Regions from separate parts of the Homo sapiens genome. Here region 1 is linked to region 2. Evidence: promoter capture Hi-C in human tissues and cell types (Jung and others, 2019). All regions are on one chromosome and are shown on one strand. Each heading gives the region's core, a stretch centred on a gene start or on the middle of the fragment in contact. The rest is flanking DNA. Distances are from core to core; before and after follow the strand shown.

What was found. Contacts are between HindIII fragments. The study calls those that stand out against the background at their distance.
Region 1: a contact is called between a fragment that was not itself captured here and the fragment with the promoter of COG1 in region 2, in 2 of the 25 tissues and cell types used here (aorta and hippocampus).

Annotation. Positions count from the first base shown.
Region 1 is chr17:73,347,306-73,352,740 of GRCh38, reverse strand. SDK2 (sidekick cell adhesion molecule 2) reads left to right here. Exons shown (of 45, transcript NM_001144952.2): 41 at 104-268; 42 at 1,951-2,091; 43 at 2,366-2,504; 44 at 4,016-4,142. Among named protein-coding and RNA genes, the nearest start is that of CDC42EP4, 38 kb to the right of the region's middle. RefSeq lists enhancers at 1-281, 282-783, 4,570-5,419. The HindIII fragment of the contact is 5,768 bases long and covers 19-5,435 here.
Region 2 is chr17:73,189,671-73,194,625 of GRCh38, reverse strand. It overlaps COG1 (component of oligomeric golgi complex 1), which reads right to left and starts at 1,571. Exons shown (of 14, transcript NM_018714.3): 1 at 1,242-1,571. The coding sequence starts at 1,556. RefSeq lists a silencer at 1,080-1,289 and enhancers at 1,340-1,619, 2,250-2,299, 1,585-2,344. The HindIII fragment of the contact is 14,916 bases long and covers 1-4,955 here.

The sequences.
Region 1 (5,435 bases), core at 1,653-4,152, 160 kb before region 2:
TCCAACAGGCCCAGCCCTCAGGGAGCATAGTCAGAACGGGGCTGGGAGCGGGATTTGGGGCTTCCCCTCACCTCCCAGGGCCTCCATCTCTGTGCTCCTGCAGACGAGGGACTATGGGACATCCTCATCAAAGACATCCCCAAGGAGGTGAGCTCCTACACGTTCAGCATGGACATCCTGAAGCCGGGCGTGAGCTATGACTTCCGGGTCATCGCGGTCAACGACTATGGTTTCGGCACCCCCAGCAGCCCCTCCCAGTCTGTGCCAGGTACCGGCCTGGGGGCTGAGGGAGTGGGGGAGCCCCACAGCAGAGCCTGGGGGCTGACACTGGGCAGGGCGGAAGGAGGAGAGGCACCAGGGCACCAGGAGCATGGGGCGGGAACAAAAACACATTGTCCCCTCGGGGCTGTGAAGAGGCAAGTGCTGGTGCCCAGGCCTGGGTCAGCCCTCAAGACCAGAGGAAACTAGGGATCTTCATCTTTGGGGCTCCCTTTCAAGGAACTCCAGAAGCCCTGGGTAGGGGCAGAGCAGAGGGCCCAAGATGCAAACTTCCATGCACTCATCACCCAGGACATTCATGGGCACCAGGCCATAAACTATCTTTCCATGGAAACCTCCAGCCCCAACGTGGCAGGGTCAGCAGCCTGCAGAGCAGCAGAGACACAGGTGGGCCTTAGGCCTGACCTAGTGCCTGGGTGCAGCAGGGTCACCACCCCTCCCATTTTCCTCCCCTCATTCTTCCTATCTGGCATGTCTTGGAGCGCACAAAGGGCTCTGCTATCTAAACCCTTGACCCAAAATGTTATCACTAACCACCCAGAATACAAAGGCCCCTTCCCCCAAGCAGAAGCACAACTCAAAGGAACCCAGCCTCCTCCCCCTGCCACACATTGCCCACATTGAAGAACCAAATCTTCTCCTTTACCCACATTGATAAAACCAAATCCTGGGACAGAAGTGCTTCAAGGCCGAAACAGAGAGCCCATCTCTTGTCCACACAGCATGGGTAGTCCTGGCTGGGTGCAGAAAGCACAGTCTAGGGGTTTTGAGAAAAGGGAGCTCTACCTGGAAGAGACATCCTAAAGACCCTCTCACCACACTCTGGTTTTTCTTCAGATCGTGTAAATCTTTCACCTTTTACTAAAGAACCCCTGTGTCCATCCTCCCAATTCCCCCTGCCTTCTGCTACCAGCAAAAATTTCACTCCAAACTAAACCTCAGGAAAAGCTCTCTCATCCTCCTGCAGGCCAGAGAAGCACCTTTCCCCACACAGATTTAGGTATGCTTATCAAGATAGCTCCTAGACAAGTACAAAAGAAAAAAAGAAAAGGGGCCGGGAACGGTGGCTCACGTCTGTAATCCCAACACTTTGGGAGGCCGAGGCAGGTGGATCACCTGAGGTCAGGAGTTAGAGACCAGCCTGGCCAACATGGTGAAACCCCGTGTCTACTAAAAATACAAAGATTAGCCGGGTGTGGTGGCAGGTACCTGTAATCCCAGTTACTTGGAAGGCTGAGGCAGGAGAATTGCTTGAACCCGGGAAGTGGAGGTTGCAGTGAGTCAAGATCATGCCATTGCACTCCAGCCTGGGAAATAAGAGTGAAACTCCGTCTCAAAAAAAAAAAAAAGGGGAAAAAGTAGCTAACACACTGCCACTCTCCCCTCCTATGTCCCTGGCAGACATCACTAATCAATCTTAGCACTCTTTCCTATTGAGCCAGGTAGCCATCTCAGAACTCATCTGACATCAGCCCTCCAGGCAGCCCTTTACCGACTGATCAGAGCGGATACTTGAGGTGAAACTGTCCTTACAGAGGTTCTGCCTCATTCGGAGGGTACAGACCCTGCCTTCCCATAGATTGTAGCAGTTAGTAGGGTCCCAACTGGAGCAGGAGATTTGGAGGGAGGAGGGGGCTGAGCACCCTATATACCTGACTATCTGTGCTCCAGCCCAGAAAGCCAACCCCTTCTATGAGGAGTGGTGGTTCTTGGTGGTCATTGCCCTGGTCGGCCTCATCTTCATCCTGCTTCTGGTCTTCGTGCTCATCATCCGGGGCCAGAGCAAGAAGTACGCCAAGAAGACAGACTCGGGTGAGTGAGCTGGCACCAGCCATGCTGGCTGGACTTGAGTTTTATGTATCTCCTTTTTGGCCAGAACAGGGGTGATCAGGTCCCTCTCCTGGCTCCTGGCAGCGCACCTGCTCTGGTGGGTGGGGCAGCCTAGGGTTTCTACACACAATCTCAATCTCTTATTTTGGTCTCAACTCTACCAAGAGAAAGAGGGGATAACCCAGCCAGGTGGAGAGTGGTATGGGAGAGGGGAGGCCACACAGTCTAAAGGGTGTCAATCTCCCGCCGACTTCAGGGAACAGTGCCAAGTCTGGAGCCCTAGGCCACAGCGAGATGATGAGCTTGGATGAAAGCAGCTTCCCTGCCCTGGAACTCAACAACAGGCGGCTCTCCGTCAAGAACTCTTTCTGCCGAAAGAACGGCCTGTACACCAGGTACTGGGCCCTCTGCGTGGGTTGGGGGCCAGGCCCAGCAGTGCCCAGGTGGGGAGAATGCTGGGGAAGGCCATAGAGCAGGGAGTGCCCACCTGGCCATACCTTGTCCTGGGAAACACCATTCAAGCCCCAGGGCTGGGAACGATCAGCAGAAAGACACAGTGGGGCCCAAGCAGGACAACTAGGGTCCCAGTCCCCACCATGCCCAATCACAGCCTGGGGGTGAGGGCGCACTGGGGAGAAATTTACAAGGAGGTAGCTACTAAGAGTTCCTGACAGTGACAGTAGAATGCAAATAACTGGCAAAATTTTTCAAACCAACCTACTGATGTTCGGAGCCAACTGCCAGGGAAACAGCCCTGCAGATCGTCACTGGCCCCAAAGGCAAGACAGGCCCAGCCAACGCAGACCGAGCAAAAACACCTTAGCGAAGGACGCCTGAGCACCCGCATTATCGCTATGCCCTCCTGTCTTCCTCCCCATTTGGGAAACCCTCTCCCCCAGGTCCTTATTTATACCTATTAAAGGACAACCTCCTATCCCCATCAGCCTCAAAGGGCAGCATCTGAAAGCAGCCCATGAGGACAGGACAAGGCTCGTGGTGCAAGCACAGCTCCTATTTTCTTCTGACTTCTTTCTAACCCCAGCCCCCTCCTAGGCCCTACTCCCTGTGGCCATCGGGCTGCCCATTTCCAAGGGCAGGAGCAGCTGCTGGGGCCCACCTGACCCTCCCCTGATGTGTGGCGGTTTTCTGTTCCCCTGAGCTCAAGAAAGACTGGGCCAGAGGGCTCCTGTCTCCAGCCTCAGCCCTATTGGCATTCCCAGCTCATTGGAGGCGGCAGTCAGGAGGAGTCCAGCCTCTCTCAGGAGCTCACAAAGCTTCCCTCTGTCTCTGTCTTAGAGGGACGAAGCTATGTGTGTGTTCATCTAGAGGATGGAGGGAGGAGCTCCCAAAGCCGAGCTCTTATCCTCTGCCAAATCCAGCCTTCCAAAGAAAGAGCTGTTTGAGGCCCCCACAGCAGGCCCAGCCAGGCCCAGCATGGCCATAGCAGCCCCGCCAGGCTGGCTCCGGGGCCCTACTACATGTAACAAGGGGGCATTTCACACGTGGCCTCACCTTCCCCTGCCCTTCCCAGCCTCTCCTACCCACAGTGCACACACATCCAGGCCCCTGTGTGCCCCCAAAGCCACTGTGTGTACACAAAAATCCCGTTTGCACCAAAGCAGCCCCAGGATGTGGGGTCCTGAACCCAGCCACGGTGACATCCCCCCTACATTCACCCTGCATGTTGCCATGACAGCATTAGCCGGGCACCCCATTTTTCCCTCTTTGTCCTCCTCCAGATTCCTACCTCCCAGGCCCGGGCCCCTGGAAGGCAGACCCAGGAAGGAGGAGGAGCACAGGGTGGCAGGGATCCGTGTTCCCCAGGCCCCCACTGTGGTCTCCCTAGGCCAGGGGAGGCCGCTCTGAGTGAGTGCACCTCTCGGCCCCACTCCCCCGCTCTCTCCAGGTCTCCCCCCAGGCCCAGCCCAGGCAGCCTGCACTACTCGGATGAGGATGTCACCAAATACAACGACCTCATCCCTGCAGAGAGCAGCAGCCTGACGGAGAAGCCCTCAGAAATCTCCGACTCTCAGGTGAGGGCAGGAGGGCCAGGTGTCCTGCAGGGGGCAGGGAGCAGCGCCTCCCAGAGTGGGGCAGTGAACGTAGATGGGCTTTCTTCCTTTCCTTCAAGGGGCAGCAAATATTAAGGGGCCCAAGAAACCACCCTGAAGTCATATATGGGCCATCTGTCCCCTCCCAAGTTCTGCTCAAAGTTTGCGGCCAGTGCCAATGGGGTCCCGGGAACCTTGATCATAGGGGGTACCCCGAAGAAGACGGCCCTCTCTACGTTCAGGGGTCACCCCACAGGCTTAGTTACTCATTAGGGCTGTCCTGCAAGAGAGCACGCTGAAGGTGCGGAGAGGGAGACTCTGGGGAGAAGGTTGACACACAGCCCTGCATTCCAGGCCAGAGACCTGGAAAAATGCTCAGCTTCACTACTCACGCATCAAAACAGCTTCAGAAACAAAGGGCTGGGTGCCCTGGAGCCCTGAGGATGAGAAGCAGTGTAGACCAGGGAGACATTAAGCTTTGGAGGTTTGGACCTGAGTGTGAATCCTAGCTTTGCTGCTCGTGACCTGGGATGTCCTGGGTGTGCCAAGTAACCTTTCTAAGCCTCAGTTTCCCCATCTGTGGAACAGGCAGGGGTGATACTAGGCTCTGTCCGAGGCTGTGGGGAGGATCTGCTGAGTTAGACACTGGTGAACTCAGTGTAGAGCCAGGCACACGGCAACCATTCCGTAAATGTCAGCTTTTATATGAAGAGGGGGTCGGTGCCTCTGGAAGACACAGAGCTTCAGAGAGCGGCCATTAGGTGGGTCACGTGGGGACACTGTCCCAGGCTGTGTGGGGAAGGGGCTGTGTGTATTCCAACCATGCAGCCTTACAGCTTCCCACCCTCACCCTCTGCCTCAGCCAAGCCCAGTGGTTATTGAGGAAAGGGCCACGAAAGGCCACTGCATCCCACGCCCTGGACCTTTCTGCCCAGGCCTGGGAGAGGAAGTGAAGGAAGAGGTGCCAGCAGGGAGCTGGGCTGCTGGCTGTGCAGGAGGTGCCAGGAAGCCTGGGATCACGCTGTGGGCCCCGTGGGCTGAGGGCCTCCCACTCACTGCTGTTTTGTTCAGCTCCAGGGTTACTGATGGGCTTGGCAGAGCTGAGAAGGCTGGACCTAACTCCCTAGCTCAAAGCTGGCAGGGACAGAGACCCCCAACTTAGCATGGCTTACCCAGGAACTTATTGTGGGGGACAAAACCCACGTGATCCAAGTTATGAGTTTTTTTGTTGTTAAGCCAGGGTCTTGCTCTGGAGTGCAGTGGCGCAATCTCCAC
Region 2 (4,955 bases), core at 322-2,821:
CGGACATGGTGGCAGGTGCCTGTAATCCCAGCTACGCGGGTGGCTGAGGCAGGAGAATCGCTTGAACCCGGGAGGCGGAGGTTGCAGTGAGCCGAGATCGCGCCACTGCACTCCAGCCTGGGTGACAGAGCGAGATCCTGTCTCAAAAAATAAAGAAATAAAAATTCTTTTTTTTTTTTTTTTTGAGACAGAGTCTCGCTCTGTGGCCCAGGCTGGAGTGCAGTGGCGCGATCTCGGCTCACTGCAAGCTCCGCCTCCCGGGTTCATGCCATTCTCCTGCCTCAGCCTCCCAGGTAGCTGGGACTACAGGCGCCGGCCACCACGCCTGGCTAATTTTGTGTATTTTTAGTAGAGACGGGGTTTCACCGTGTTAGCCAGGATGGTCTGGATCTCCTGACCTCGTGATCCACCCGCCTCGGCCTCCCAAAGTGCTGGGATTACAGGCGTGAGCCACCGCACCCGGCCAATAAAAATTCTTTAGGAACGCAAGCTGCAGCTCCAATATGAGGATGTGTTTGTTTACCTCCCATCCTTCCTCATTGTGTCTAATCAATAGCGTTTGGGGGGAAGAACACGGGATAAGGAGAACCTGAATGAAAAAAGCCTTAGTTCTGAAAATGAAAATGTTCAGCTATTAAAAGGTAAGGGCTTGGCCGGCTGTGGTGGCTCATGACTGTAATCCCAGCACTTTGGGAGACCCTGTCACATACATACATAAAGTTAAGGGCTTGATAGCTGGTACCCTCAACAACTCCCAAAGGGTAGAACAGCTATTTGGGGTTGTGGAAGTTATTCTTGGGGAGATAAGGGGAAGGTTGGGATGAGGAAGAAATGACTTGGAGTGCAGGTGTCAACATAGGGGAGAAACCTGAGGAAAAACAATGTCAGGACATGTTATATAGGTGAGCGTTGAACTGTCAAGACAGAAACTCCTGGCGTTTTCCGCTAAAATTGAAAGGAGCCCAGTGAGGTGTAGGAATCAAGGCCCGGAAGTCGGGGGAAAGCGCCTGAAGAAACTGTTGAATGGCATTTCCAGAACGGATCAGCAGCCGCATATGTGCAAGGAAGGCTGGCACTGTCCTCTGAGGGGGGCCCAAAGGGTGAGGGGCGGATAGGCTCCTGGCTAAGGAAGGTGAGGACTCGCGGGGTCTGGGACTGACAGAGGGGGGCGGGGTTGACCTGCAAGGCCAGGGGCTCCGGGACCCGCCTGCGGGTCGCAGGGTGGGGGCACGGGGACTGACCTGCTGGGCCCGCGGTGGCCGGGGCGCGGCCGAGCCGGCCTGGCGGAGGCGGGCGCAGTACTGGTCGGTGGCCTTCACGGCGTCCACTAGCCCCACGGCGCAGCGGCGCATCTGGCCGATGGTGTCGGCCGCCTCGATCAGGTCGCGGTACCGTTCGCCCACCATCTGCCGCAGCTCCTCCTTCTTGTGCTCGATCTCGGCCCGAACCTGGCGCTCCAGCCCGCGGATCTCCTCCGCTCCATGCGTCTCGAAAAGAGCCGCAGGGTCGCGCAGATCCAGCCGCTTCAGCGCGGGTGAGGTTGCCGCGGTGGCCATGGTGCACTCGTCAGCCCCCGGCGATCTACCTACGCCCTTTTAGTCCCGCCCCCTCCGCCATCTTCGTTGGGGGCGGAAGCGCTTCCGCCCCGCCGGGGGCCATGTTTGTTACCCGAGGGGGCGGGCGCGAGGGGGCGGGCGCGAGGGGGCGGGCGCGAGGGGGCGGGCGCGAGGGGGCGGGCGCGAGGGGGCGGGCGCGAGGGGGCGGGCGCGAGGGGGCGGGGGCGGGCGCGGGCGCGGGGGCGGGCGCGGTCCTGCGCGGGGTTTTCTTAAACGGAGCCGGCTGGGAAGTGAGGTCGCCAGAGAGGTGAGGTCGCCAGGTTGGCTGCGAAACTGTGGCTGAAGTCTTCCCTTTCCCTTAGGAGCAGAGCTTCTCTGTGGAGTTAGGTGTCGGGATCGGGCCCCGCGGACTGACGGCGTTGGCGCAGGCGCAGCCGCCGCTCTCCGCGCGCCTGGCGCCCGCGAGCAGACTCGGGCGCGCTCGCCGCCGCTGGGTCTCGGATCGCACCCCGCGTGCAGTTTTAGGAAGAGGGACATCCGCGCCCCTCGCTGTTCCCCGGGAAGAGCTACCACGCCGCCCCTGAAGGGGTTCTGAGCGCTTGTTTGGCGTCTGCTTTTCCTCTGCTGTTGATTCGTGTTGGAGGTTTTCCATTTCGTTTAAAACCGATGTTTAGCCCCTGAAGACGTTTTCCCTGCGAGAGCCTGACCTTGGTGGCCATGGGGGAGGAGGGCGGCGGGCTGGGCGGGAGAGGCTGGGACGCCCCGGGGAACGCAGCGCCAGACGGGTGGGCGCTCCTCACGTGGCCCAGGAATAGTAGAATCTGGAGATTGTGGCTTGTTTCTGCTAAGTCCCAGACCCTTCTTTTTTTTTTTTTCTGTTTTAATTTCTTTTGGAAGATTTCACCCACACCAGTGTCGACAAAATGATGCAATGTGCGCAGCGGCCATGCTGAGCCCCCAGCAACTCAGGGCCTACCCTGCATCCCTGCTCATTCCCTCTCCCACCCGCCACCTCCGGACGCACAGAATTTCAATCTGCAAATAAATGGTGCATTTATAATATTCCAGTTTAACCCGCAAGAGCCTTGCGGCGTAGGGAGTATCATTCTCACTTTACAGACTCATTTTACAGATGGGGAAACGGGGGCCCGGAGAGGCAAAGGGTTTTTTACTCAGTAAAAGTGCAGTTTTCAGAGCCTGTCCACGAGATTATCTCATTTTCTCGCACATCGGCCATGCCAGGTAGGTAGGAGTAATATTCCTAGTCCATTTATGAGGAAAAAAAAAAAAGAAACAAAAGCTTATTTACCTGCCCAAATTACATAGCTGATAGGTGACCCAGTGAGTATTTGGACGTCGATTTTTAAATTACTGGCTCGCGCTCTTTTCTACGTTTTCACATAATTTCCCACAGAGCACCCTCTGTTGGCAGGCCTGCAGTTTGCAGTCTCTAATCCCATTCTGCAAGGGACACTTACTGGTATTCGGCTGATAAGCATCCGCAGTATCTCCTTTCTGTGATTGGGGAATTCATCGCTATCTAGCAAAATCTTTTTTTCTGGCGCCCTTTATAGCTACGGTGCCAGCCTGCGGCCTGGGACTGGCACAGCAGGCACAAGCGCCTAGGACTTGGGTGAAGAGTTAGTGACATTAAGAAGCAGGCTGTAATCCCAGCACTTTGGGAGCCCAAGGCGTGTGGATCCCTTGAGCCCAGGAGTTCAAGACCAGCCTGGGCAACACGGCCAAACCCCGTCCTTACAAAAAAATACAAAAAAAGGGGCGCGCGCCGGGTGGCTCATGCCTGTAATCCCAGCACTTTGGGAGGCCGAGGCAGGCGGATCACATGAGGTCAGGAGTTCGAGACCAGCCTGGCCAACATGGTGATACCCTGTCTCTACTAAAAATACAAAAATTAGCTGGGCGTGGTGGCGCACATCTATAATCCCAGCTACTCGGGAGGCTGAGGCAGCAGACAGGAAGCTGAGGCAGGAGAATCACTTGAACCTGGGAGACGGAGGTTGCAGTGAGCCGAGATCGAGACACTGCACTCCAGCCTGAGCGACAGAGTGAGGCTCCGTCTCAAAAAAAAAAAGAAAAAGAAAATTAGCCGGGAGTAGTGGTGTGGGCCTGTGGACCTGTAGTCCCAGCCACTTGACAAGAGGCAAGTGAGGCAAGAGGATCACTTGAGCCTCTGGAGGTCGAGACTGCGTCAGTGAGCCATGATTGGGCCACTGCATTCCAGCCTAGACAACAGAACAAGACCCTGTCTCAAAAAAAAAAAAAAAAAAAAATCGCAGGTGACAGGGGCGATTGCATTTTGGTGGTGGCACAGGTATCACCGGCAACATCCACTCCCTAAGGACAGCAAGGGCAGTGAACTTAGCTCCAGCTCCCAGCTGCTAATGCTGGCGGTGGTGCTGGTGGCAGCCGTGGGCACCCACAATGACGTCCTCGACAGAATCACCATGTGGTGTGCTCGTCTAGGTTTTAAATGTTCTGTTTCCCTTCCTTCCTTCCTGCCTGTCCCCTGAACCTGCCTCCCCATCTTTCCCAGAGATTCTATGAACTGTGCAGTGTCTTACTGATCAATTTTGTTTCTTTGAAAATCAAAATCGGTTTCCCTGGTTTGCCCTAGCCCTAACTGATATACACTGCACTAAGGTTCCAGCTCCATGAGAGTTTGGTTGAAGCCTTTCTTACAGCAAGGGGAGAAATGTCAACATATCAGGGATAGTGGGGGGCCCAGGGCTTTGTATGGGATGGTCCTTGCGCTTGTGCACAATACCTGTAAGCTCAGGTAGAGAAAAGACAAACTGGCCAGCTGTCAACACTGCAGTGTGTGTGTGTGTGTGTGTGTGTGTGTGTGTGTGTGTTCTGAGTCAGGTAGAGAAAAGACAAACTGGCCAGCTGTCAACACTGCAGTGTGTGTGTGTGTCTGTGTGTGTTTGTGTGTGTTCTGAGACAGGGTCTCACTGTTGCCCAGGCTGGAGTGCAGGGGTGCAATCACGGCTCACTGAAGCCTCCACCTCTTGGGCTCAAGCAATCCTCCCACCTCTGCCTCCCTAGTAGCTGGGATTAACAGGTGTGCACCACCATGCCCGGCTAATTTTTTAATTTTTGTGTAAAGACAGGGCCTCACTCTGTTGCCCAGGCTGGTCTCAAACTCTTGGGCTAGAGGGATCCTCCCACCTCAGCCTCCCAAAGTGCTCGGGTTACAGGTGTGAGCCACCTCACCTAGTCCAGAGTGTGGTTTGAAATCAGGGTGTTCCCTGCCTTTCCTCTGTATTTCCCTGGCCAAGTTCATCTGACTGGCCTGAAGATGCCACTGTTGTTCCTCTGCCTGCAGAACTGAGCACTGACAGAAGCTGTCACCTGACTGCCTGGTCACTGGAAAAGCTC